Linked DNA regions of Homo sapiens: region 2 is linked to region 1. Evidence: promoter capture Hi-C in 16 types of primary human blood cells and fetal thymus (Javierre and others, 2016). All regions are on one chromosome and are shown on one strand. Each heading gives the region's core, a stretch centred on a gene start or on the middle of the fragment in contact. The rest is flanking DNA. Distances are from core to core; before and after follow the strand shown.

Region 1 (5,941 bases), core at 1-2,500:
TGTTCCCCGCGTAGGCACACACCAGCCTGGCCTGTCTCTGGTGACCCCCTGAGTGGCCTCCACGTAGGTAACAGAGGTCACCTGCTGTTCCAATCCAGGGGGTGCAGGGGCCAGGCTTTGCGTCCTCAGGGCCCCCGCAGCTTAGAGCTCAGACCTGGCTACTGAGGAAAAATTCTGAAAATGCTTCCCAAGCGACGAGGCTAGATGCTGGTGAGGCCGTGCTCCAAGCCCCAACCTTGCCAGTCACTCTCTGTGACCCTGAGTAAGTCTCTTATCCTCCCTGGGCCTCAGATTTCCAATCTGTACAATGGCAAGGTTGGACTAGAAGAATCTAAGACCTTTTCCGTCTCAAAGATCCACCCATTCATTCATTCATTTATTCATTCATTCAGCAACATTTATTGAGCCCTTGGTCCTGGTGCTCAATAGGGATGAGCTACCTCCTAGTGATACAGCAGCGATCAAAACGGACACAGCCTCGTGGAGCTTGCTTCTCATGGGGGAGCCAACGTTCAAGAAAAAATAATAAATGAGCATATAATATTATTCCTGTAATATAAGAACCAGGCAGAAAAGGGAAATAGGGCAAAGGGTCAGACAGCAATGAGGTAGGGGCTGTCAGGAAGGCTTCTTGGAGGAGGTGACATTTGAGGCAAGCCCTGATTAGCGGAAGAACAAGCCAGATTCTGTGAATTCTGTTTGCGCAGAAGATGGAAAGTCATTGCTGATCACCATGTGAAGCAAAGGGCCCCAGCCTGGGACCCAGGACACCTGCATTCCTCTCCAGACACTGCCGGTCACTCGTTGTGTGACCGTGGGCAAGTCACTCCCACTCTTGGAGCCTCAGTGTTCTCATTTGTGTCTGAGGGTGGTGAGCCACAGCTCAAAGTTTCGTTAAAGCAGTTCTGAGAGGTTGCATTTCTGAGTATTTGGGTTCTGACTCAACCCCAGCCTCTCATGTTGATCAGGGACTGCAGAAGGACTGGCCTTTGTCCCTAAGGCCTATGAGGAGCAGTGAGAAGGCCCGGGGGCGGCCACACCCCGGCACTCACCTCTCGGCCCGCAGCTGCTGGGCCACAGCCATGGTGGGCGATGGTCCCAGGGAGCAGGTGGAGAGTCTCGCCCAGCCAGTCCCAGGCTGAGTTCACCTCTCACTTCCTCCAGCCACCCTGCGTCTCGTCTCAGCCTGTGGTCCTGGGAGTCCCCAGGAGCTGCCTTTGGGGAGGCTCAGGCCTGCTTCTCTCCAGTCTGGCAGAGGCTCCTCCTCCAGGCTCTCTGGGCCTAGCCTGTGGCCCACACTTCCTCTTACCTCACCTCCCAGCTGCACAGAAATTGAGGAAGTGGACCCTCGGGTGCCAGGTTTGCAGGAATCCACTTCCTTGATGTCAGTCCTTGGCGCCAAGCCTCAGTTGGGTATCAGAAGCCTTGCTCCATCAGAGATGGGGTCCCAGCCATCAGGGTGTCTTGTGACCTTGAGGAGTCACTTATCCTCTGGCCCATCAAGCCCCACCTTTATTCTCTTACTGCCAAGCCTTTGCCCAAACTCTTCCCCAGGCCTAGAATGCTGGCCTCCATTTTCCTGTGATCTCTTAGGCCCAGAGTAAATGCCACCTCCTCCAGGAAGCCCTCCTGGTTCCTCTGGCCTCTGTCTTCCTAGAGTGTGAAGTTTGGTTTGCGCGCCCTGGCACTCTGGGATATCCTTTCCTCATCCTTAGATCTCCATGCCCAGCCAATCCTCTTTCACAGGGCTGCCAATCAGAGTGAGTTTCACCCTCCCTGCTTAAACTCTCCTGCCCCATCACCCTGTGCTCAGGATAAAGTCCAGAGTCCTTGCCCTGCCTGCCTCCAATGCCCCTGAGGCCCTGCAGCCTTCCCCAGCCTCTGCTCCTGAGCTCCCTTTTTCTCACTGGCCTCCTTTCCGTTTCTAGAATGTTCTAAGACGTCCGCCCCAAGGCCTATGCTCATGGTGTTCCCTCTGCTGGAAAAAGCTCTTCACTGCCTCCTTTGCATCTCAGCTTAGAAGCTACATCTTTAGCGAGGCCTTCCCTGACCACACACCCTAAATTAAGGCCCTCCCTACTACATTCTCTCACAGGTCCCTGCACGTCTACTGCAGAGCACTCATAACTATTGTCATCTCACATTTGTTTGTTTATCTGTATGTTTAATGACTGCCTCCTTGGCTAGCAGCGTGCCTGGCACATTGCAAGTGCTCAACCAATATTCAGTGAATGAATGAAACGCTGCCAGTCAGTGACTGCAGCTCCTAACAGGTATGGGTATTTGATTCTGAAGGGACTTCTCTGAGAAGAGGTCCACAGGAGTCATTGGCACAGCCACACCCAGTAACTCCCTGCCAGCTACACACGCTCACACACTCGTATTCATACATGCAGAGCAGAAAGTTGTTTTAAACTACTTTAAACATACAAGTCCCAGCTAAAAAAAACAAGAAAGCATAATTTTTAGGTAGGATCAAAGAGAGGGGTCAGGAATCTATACCAGGGGGAGAGGAACGTGGCCAACAGCCCATGGGAAAACCAAGATTGGATATGCATTGTTGGGCTGAGATTTTAATGCCAAATCTGGGACTAGGTACAGGCCACAGGTCCTGCTGTTAGCAGAAAGTCAAATCTGAGTTCTCAGTGTAAAGTGGGTGTCAGAACTGATTATGGGAACAGAGTTTCTCAGCCATCAGCCTAGAGTCACGGCAGGAGCTGAGGTCCTCTCACAGTCCATGGGTGGAACAAGGGACGTGTGTACCAGATCAGCCTCAAGCCTGCCCTCTGCACTGGTGTAAGGCCCCGATATAAGCTACCCACGTGGTGCAGAAATCCTAAGCTGAGGCATTATATAAAAACAGCTTGGAGTCAGTGACTCTGCAGGGCCTACTCTGTCAACTCACAGACCAAAACTACAAATCGTGAGCTGTGAAAGACAGCTCAGAGCCTCCACATCATGAAGAATTCACACCCAAAGAACTAGAAATAATACAAACAATAAGTCTGATGAGTTGCTGGTGTCTCGGGGCTCCCAGGCTAGAGGATGAAATGAAACACAGAGCAGGGTTATTAGTGCAGGTGTCTGTAAGTACCAACAGGTGCAAGCACACAGCCATAACTGAGGGAAGAGGAGGACATTGGCCTACAGTTGGTCAGGAAGGACAGGAAGTGGCAAAACAATTTTAGCAAGCAAGCATGATACAGAATTTGTAGGTGATTGTGTAAACTGTGTGTGTAGTATATGCCTATAGTTGGAAACACATATTTGTGTATAAACACATACAGCTCGCATAGGCAAGTGTAAGTGCATTTGTGTTGTGTCTATAAAAGACCATATAATGTGTATAGTGGTGGCATTGTGGCTGTGAGAGAATGTGTTTAGATGTTTAGGTTGCAGTCGGTGACAAATGAGTATAAACACAAGTACATTTATAATAGGTGAACTCAGGCAAGATAACATGTCCTTTTTGAACCTTTCTTCTTCACCAATCTGTGAAACAGTCTTGCCTAATGGAGTTGTAGTAGGAATTAATAGAAAACTGTATAAAAGTGCCTAGACACATGGACATTTCTTATTCCTTTTTTAATCGTTTTCAGTGTGTATATCTGTATGTGTGTGTTTCAGGTGGGTTAAGCCCTCAAGTTTACCTTCCCAGGTATTTTCATGGCTTGCCCTCCAAACCCCGGCCCCCCCAACCCCCCAAGAAACCTCCTGTGGCCCTGACTCAGCCACTGGGAAGCCACCTCTGCACCTGGGGGACAAAGATGTCCAGGGAAGAGCCCGCGACGGGCCAGCTCTTCCCCTCCTCCCCTCTTTCTCTCCTTTTCTTCTGTCCCTGCCCGTGGTTCTGCTGAATACAGGTATTTCTCTGTCTCCTCATACACAGAACGCTGCTGCCAATTTTATGCCCGAGCTCTGATACAGTGTAATTTGAGGCCAGGCACTCTGTCAGCAATGGGCTCCTGTCCTGCCGCTGCAGCAATGCCTGTACCTTCTACTCCCACTCCAGAACCGGGCTCTTGCTGCTCCTGCTGCAGGGGGAGAATGAGGCAGAGGGATGACCTGGAAGAGGAGCCAAGCTCTTCACACGTTCCATTAAACAAGTATGGATGGAATCTTTTTTGGATAAGTGCAAAGAAATGCCTGAAGTGACCTCTCACTTATGGAGACCTGATTTTTGATAACCTCCACATCCCACAGCCTGTGAATAAACCAAAAAAAGAGAAAAGCCATTGAATGGTTAGAATTGATAGCTCAAAGTCTATGCATTGACACTGGCATATTTTATTCACAGAAGAAATATAAAAGGAGCCTGGTCCTCTCTTCCTGCCAACTCAAGAACTTGAAGCAGTGAGTTAGGGGAAGGAAGAAAATTACCAGGGGCAGCCAAATGCAAGCGACAGTTCAGTGACAGCCTGACAATGATAAAGACCATGGAATACCAAAAAATATATATGTTCTCAAGAACTCAAAAAACAAATACCAGAGGCCATTCAGAGAAGGGCATCTCTGCATAACACCACTTACTAATGCCCATTCATAATCACATCTCCAGGAAAAAGTCTAATACACCAAGACCATGCCTGGGGGATCCCCAGAGCCTGAATGGGGACTGGATGTGCGAATCACAAAAGTGCACAGCACTTTTCAGTCCTTCCTCATGCAGGTGCTGGGGTATACAAGATAAACCATAGCCCCCATTTTGGACATGAGGAAACTCTCCTTTGAGCAGCCAGCGGCTGGGGCTGAGAGCTCCAGCCATAGGAACTGGAACTCTGTGATAGGGAGGAGGTGAGCCTCTTCTACAGGACCAGGAGATACCCTTGAGAGCTCATTATAGGTACTCAGCAAATCCCCACTGCCTACATCAGCCACTCTCCAGGGTAAGAGAAGGAAAATCCCTGATTGGACAGTGTAAGATTCCTGGGGATCCCTCACACACTGAATTCCCCAATCTTGACCCACATGTGTCTCCCTTTATAATTTATGAGGGGAACTTCACTGGACCTCCTCCCTGAGCCATAAATAGCCATCCCTGGCATGCCACCCAGGCAGGGAGGGTGTAGACGTGGCCAATTAGACAGCAAACTCCCTGAAGGCAGAGGGTCTTCTCTTCTCTGAGAAGCCCTGGCACACGGCTGAGCTGGGTCTAAACCTCGTGTGCCCTCGCTGTGTCACGCATTAGTTGTGCAAACTCTCCGACCATTGTTCAGTTTTCTAAATGGAGATAATATTTGCCTCTACATTATTAATTGGAGAGAAAAATTGCAGGATTATTGTATTATTCATTTCCAAATGTGTTGAGAACCTACTATGTGCCAGACACCCACTGTGTGCTAGGCCCTAAATGAAACACAGACACTGTTCTTGAGACACGCACTTACTAGAGGTGTGTTAACTAAGGGAATGAATACCAGATGTTTAGGACAGTGGCTCGCGCATAGCAGGTGGTCAATAAATTCTAGACGTTAATGTTATTGACGATCATTCCTTGCTGTGGCTTGGTCCCTCCCTTTTCTGTCTCCCTCTGCTGCACAGCTTGGTCCTCTCTGTCATACAACTAACGTTACATTCTAACTTTTTCCCGCAATCTGTCATCCGCTCTCATCACGCGGGGGCACCGGGACGCGCACTTCCCTGGCGGAACCGGCTCTGCGCTTAATCTAAATGTTGACGGGAACAGACCGCCAGGGGGCGCCGCGATCAGCAGCCGAGTCCCCGCTCCGCAGCGCCACCTAGAGGAGGTTGAATGCTATAAGCCGCACTAGAAGGACCCGGCCAAGTCGAGAGTCAAGTTGCAGCTGGCCAGGCAGAGCGCGCAGCCTGCTGGCTCAGACAACCTCTCCAGACAGCCCTATCAGCCAGAATCTGAGCTGCACTCAGGGGAAGCTTCCCCCAGGGGCTAAGAATCCTGAATCTCCTCTCCACCATCATAAAT
Region 2 (5,452 bases), core at 677-3,176, 130 kb before region 1:
TGCGTAATTAACAAATTATAAAGTTAATCTAGGCATTTGTGTTTTCCTGAACACTAAGGGCCTTAGAAGGCTTTAACTTTGGCTGGGCGCCGTGGCTCACACCTGTAACCCCAGCACTTTGGGAGGCCGAGATGGGCGGATCACAAGGTCAAGAGATCCAGACCATCCTGGCTAACATGGTGAAACCCCGTCTCTACTAAAAATACAAAAATTAGCTGGGTGTGGTGGCGCATGCCTGTAATCCCAGCTACTCAGGAGGCTGAGGCAGGAGAGTAGATTGAACCTGGGAGATGGAGGTTGCAGTGAGCCAAGATTGAGCCACAGCACTCCAGCCTGGAGACAGAGCGAGACTCCGTCTCAAAAAAAAAAAAAAGAAAAAAAAAACTTTAATTAACTTTAATTACTCTCCCGACCTCCACCTCAGCTTACATGTTATTATTTTATAGAATTTATATATGTATTATATATAGGATTTAGATATATGTATATATAGAATTTATATATATATTCTCGGCCTCCCAAAGTGCTGGGATTACAGGCGTGAGCCACCGCGCCCAGCCCACATCTTTTTATTTCTTTGTATTGCATCCTAATATTAATTTCTTTAGGTATATCTTCCAGTTTACCATTTTCTCTCAGCTTTATTTGATCTGCTATTTTATCTGTTAATTGAATTTCTTTTTAAACTTTTATGATGGCAATTTTCAAGCTTATGGAAAAGAAGAGAACTTAGTTTATAAATAGATGTTGCATATACCACTCAGCCTCAACAATGATTAATACATAGCCGATCTTGTCTCATCTTTTCTCCCACCCATCCACTCCCACCCAAGATTATTTCAAAGCAAGTCCCAGGCATCTTATTGCCATGGAGTTTAATTTTTTTTCAATTATTATGTGTTTCATTTCTGAAATTCCGTTTGCTTCTCTTACTAATCTATCTGCTCTTTCTGGATGGTTTCTTACTCTTTGCTTATATTTTTATTCTCTCTTATGGTTTCAATCATTAAATATAGGTTTTTTGTTTGTTTGTTTGTTTGTTTGAGACAGAGTCTCTCTCTGTTGCCCAGGCTGGACTGCAGTGGCACGATCTCGGCTCACTGCAACCTCCGCCTCCCGGGTTCAAGCAATTCTCCTACCTCAGCCTCCTGAGTAGCTGGGATTACAGGAGCCCGCCACCACGCCCAGCTAATTTTTGTATTTTTAGTAGAGACGGGGTTTCACCATGTTGGTCAGGCTGGTCTCGAACCCCTGACCTCGTGATCCACCCGCCTTGGCCTCCCAAAGTGCTGGGATTACAGGCGTGAGCCACTGCCCCCGGCCTAAATATACTTATTTTGTATTCTGTATCTGATCATTCAAATCTTTGCTAATTTGGGAGATTTTGTCCTTTGGTGTTTCTGCTGACTCTTGATCATTGCAACGTATCTGCTTGTGCATGTTTGAATTTTGAAAACAGAGATAAGTTTTCCTAAGTTACAGGTATTAGTTGCCACTTGCTAGATGTCTTGATGAATGTCCAATAATTTTGTCTTTCCAACCATGCAAAAAAATCTCATTTCTTGGTATAGTTGAAGACACTGAAGCTCAGAGAGGTTAAAAATTTCTCTGAGGCTATACTACCCATAAATAATGGAGTCTGGGTTTGAACCCAAACGACTTTACTTTGAAACCCTTCCCACTCTCCTTCCGTTCCACAATTTACCATCCGTAGAGGAAACTGACACCCAATATAAGCCATGGAGTACCCGACTGCCACTGAATTGGGCACTTGGGGTTTCTTCATGGTATTCTACAGGGGCTGCTGAGGAGACAAAGAGCCTCATGAAGGCTTCTTACACACCAGAGGTCATTGAGAAATCAGTGAGGGACTTAGAACACTGGCATGGCAGGAAGACGGATGATCTGGGTAAGTGAGGAGCTGCGGGTGATGGGAGGCAGGGACTGTCCTCCACCAGCAGGGTGTGTTGGCTCTAAGGGTCAGAGAGAAACCAGAGCAGGAGACAGAGCCGGGGTGGACTTGGAAGAGGTACGAGTCATCCCTGGGGTCTGGGCAACTCCAGAGACTGCCAGATGATCTAATCTGTGCTGGCTCTTCTCCTGCTCGCTGTAGGGCGGTGGCACCAGAAAAATGCTATGAACCTGAACTTGCAGAAAGCACTGGAAGAGAAATATGGAGAAAACAGCAAATCCAAGAGCTCCAAGTACTAGTTTTGACACAGTAGAGGTGTCTTCTACTCAAATAAAGTGCTAACAATAAGGAAAGGCTCAGGTCCGAGTCCTCCTGTGCTTGGTGCCTTTCTTCACACTGGAGTAGAGGCCGATATGTGGTGTTGGAGAGACCAACTGGGGGAAGATAGAAGCCCTGGGGTCCCAAACTATTCCCTAGTCCTCCCTCCTGCACACACATGCACACACACGTACCTTCATCCATTATCCCAGGAAAGGACATGAGAGCTGGGCATGACTCTGTCTCAAGCCCAGGGTGCCTGGCTTCTCCCACATGCCCTATGTGAGGGGGTCCTATAGTGGACACTGCTGGATCTTACCCTACATGCTCTTCCTAGAAGATGCCAATTATTCCCAGACATCCATTCCTCCCCCACGAGACACGGACTTCAGAGGAGTTGGCCACACACATTTCCTCCAATCTAGTGGCGGGTTTGATTGGTCTCATGGTGATTCTTTACCCCTACCCCAACCCCACCTCTTGCACGTGATTGGTTCAGTCATGCACATATGACTCAATTTGGGCCAATAAGATGCAAGGAAACGTGTGGATGCGTGCAGCCTTCTGGGAAATTCTTTTCTCAGCTGGGAATGCTGAGAGAGCATCCATCTTTCCTGATGTAATGAATGAGGAACCATGCAGCCCAGACCACTCCTGCCAGACACCTATGACCAGAGGAATTGCAGACCATGCAGCACATTCTGGGTCCTCCATGGCCTCGCAGAGCTGCTCCATCAACTTGGCCAGAAGCTGCCGGCCTCTGGACTTCCTGTAATGTGAGCCTGAGGTCTCCTCATTGTTTAAGGAGCCAAAAGCATCCTCAGACCATAGGGGCTTGGAGCCCCAGGGAAGAGTCCCCAGATAATGGGTTCTAGGTCAGACGGTTCTGTTTTCCAGTTGATCCTGAAGCTTTTCACCTGATGAGTCTCTAAGCCCGCAGCACACTCCACCCCGAGATCACTGACTTGCACCCTCAGACCGTGCTCTACCCATGGGTTATTTATTATTTGCTGTGTTCCAAAACACCACCAAAACTTGTGGGCTTAAAATGACATGATCCTTAATTTGCTCATGATTGAGCAATTTAGGCAGGGCTCAGGAGGTACGGCTCATTTCTGTTCTGTATAGCATCTGCTGTGAAGACGCCTGCTCCTCTCCCATGCCTAGTGCCTCAGCTGGGATGAGAACCACAGTGGGGGGCTGGCTGATCATCACTCTCTCTCATGGGACCTCTCTTCGTGGCTCACTTGAGCTTCTTTTGGAATGGGGACTAGGTTTCAAGAAGGAGCCGTCTCAGGGGACAAGATTCAATGTGCAATGGTTTATCAAGCCTTGCACTGGCTTGTCAATGTCCCTGTGGCCAAAGAGACATATGGCCAAGCCCAGACTTTGTGAGAGGGGACTACATAAGAGTATTACTGTATGCAGGAATGGTTCATTGGCGACCTCAAAATAATAGTTTGTCCTGGTGGTCATCTTGCTTTTGAAAGATCAAAAGCGAGAGGAAGAATCAAAATCACTACTGGGAGAAGAGGAGACATGTTCCTACTTCTCCCTCAACTGCCCCTCCTCCCACAAAAGGGAATGACTTACTTACTTTTTTTTCTTTGTCTTTTCTTTTTTTTTTTTTTTTGAGATGGAATCTGGCTCTGTTGTCCAGGCTGGAGTGCAGTGGTGTGATCTTGGCTCACTGTAACCTCCGCCTTCTGGGTTCAAGCTATTCTCCTGCCTCAGCCTCCCGAGTAGCTGGGATTACAGGAGTGCACCACCATGACCAGCTAATTTTTGTATTTTTAGTAGAGATGAGGTTTCACCATGTTGGCCAGGCTGGTCTTGAACTCCTGAGCTCAAGTGATCCACCCGCCTCAGCCTCCCAAAGTGCTGGGATTATAGGCGTGAGCCACCACGCCCGTCCAGGAATGACTTAAAGGTAGGGTTGGATCAGAATGCAATACAGGGAAGTGAATCTGACTTGATTTAATATTCATCAAATATCTAATTATGTGCAAAGTGCAGAGTTCAGTTCAACTTCTTTACTGGGTACCTAGTTTCTGCAAGACACTGTTCTGGGCACTGGAAACACTAGACTTTGTCTTCATCAACTACTATGTGCCCATCACATGTGACACCTGAAAAAATGAGCCACCCAAAGTCTTGTGGCTAAAGCAGACTCTGTGCTGTTCTGACATAGAAATGATAACGTGGCAAATGATTATGTGCCACATGGTTTATATACGGAACTGTATTTCATCCTTACACCAGTCCTCAGAGCTGTTATCACTCCCTTTATGAAGATGAGGAAACTGAGGCTTGGAGAGGCCAAGGAAATTGTACAAGATTATATGCATAGGAAGCTGGGGGTGCAAACCCAGGAATTTCTATCCAAAGTCACTTCTACTCTACCAGGCAATCGTACTGCAGTGTACGTAGTATGACAGTGCAGTGCCTAACAGGGCTGAGTGTTTGTGGTGCCTGTTGACGGAGCACCACAAACACTCAGCCCTATTAGGCACGGTGAAAACAGCAATATGAATGCAATACAATATGCAATATGCATATGCAATATGCAATACAGTCCAGACCTCAGAGCTTTGCAGTCTGCAGGAGATTGATGTGGAAGAAGCTGCCTTAGAGACTTATCTACCCATGATATGCCCCTGCCCAGCCCTGACCAATGAGCTGGACGTGCAAAAATAAATAAGACATGGCGCCTGTCCTCAAAGAGTTCAGAGTCTGGCGAGAAGACAAATACATCAGTACATAGATGCTCAGAAGTCTTACACATGCGGTGAGACGTTCACGTGGGGCCAGCAAAAGCACAAAGGAGAACGTGGTTAGCTCTGCCTGGGATGGGGTAGGGTGCCGGTCATATGGTAGGCTTCATAGAGGAGGTGGCTCTTGAGATGAATCATGGAACATGAATAAGGATGTTCAGGTGGACTGGAAGAGGCACAGCATTCCAGACAGAGGGCATGGTATGCATGAAACTGCAGCATGATGTATTTGGCAAGCTGCAGGTAGCTTGTTAAGCTTGGAAGGTAGGGCTCCAAGGAGGAACACAGAGGTGAGGTAGGAAACAGAGAGTCTATGCCTGGACCGGGCTGTCCTCTGTGAGGGCCTTACATTTGAGACTCAGACCTTCCTTCTAGGAATTTACAGTCTGGCTGGAACATAAAGAGTTAATGACTAAAGAAGCCACACGGAAGAGTTGAAAAGATGCTC

What was found. The method cuts DNA at HindIII sites, captures the fragments that hold promoters and counts their contacts. A CHiCAGO score of 5 or more calls a contact.
Region 2: a contact is called between a fragment that was not itself captured here and the fragment with the promoter of NCF4 in region 1, in 5 of 17 cell types (endothelial precursors, neutrophils, M0 macrophages and 2 more). The highest score is 9.2, in endothelial precursors.

The regions. Positions count from the first base shown.
Region 1 is chr22:36,856,315-36,862,255 of GRCh38, reverse strand. It overlaps NCF4 (neutrophil cytosolic factor 4), which reads right to left and starts at 1,250. Exons shown (of 10, transcript NM_000631.5): 1 at 1,053-1,250. The coding sequence starts at 1,084. All of the region lies in intron 1 of NCF4-AS1 (NCF4 antisense RNA 1), which reads left to right. The HindIII fragment of the contact is 9,996 bases long and covers 1-5,894 here.
Region 2 is chr22:36,987,938-36,993,389 of GRCh38, reverse strand. CIMIP4 (ciliary microtubule inner protein 4) reads left to right here. Exons shown (of 6, transcript NM_001163857.2): 5 at 1,799-1,909; 6 at 2,114-2,265. The coding sequence ends at 2,211. Among named protein-coding and RNA genes, the nearest start is that of CIMIP4, 17 kb to the left of the region's middle. The HindIII fragment of the contact is 2,430 bases long and covers 712-3,141 here.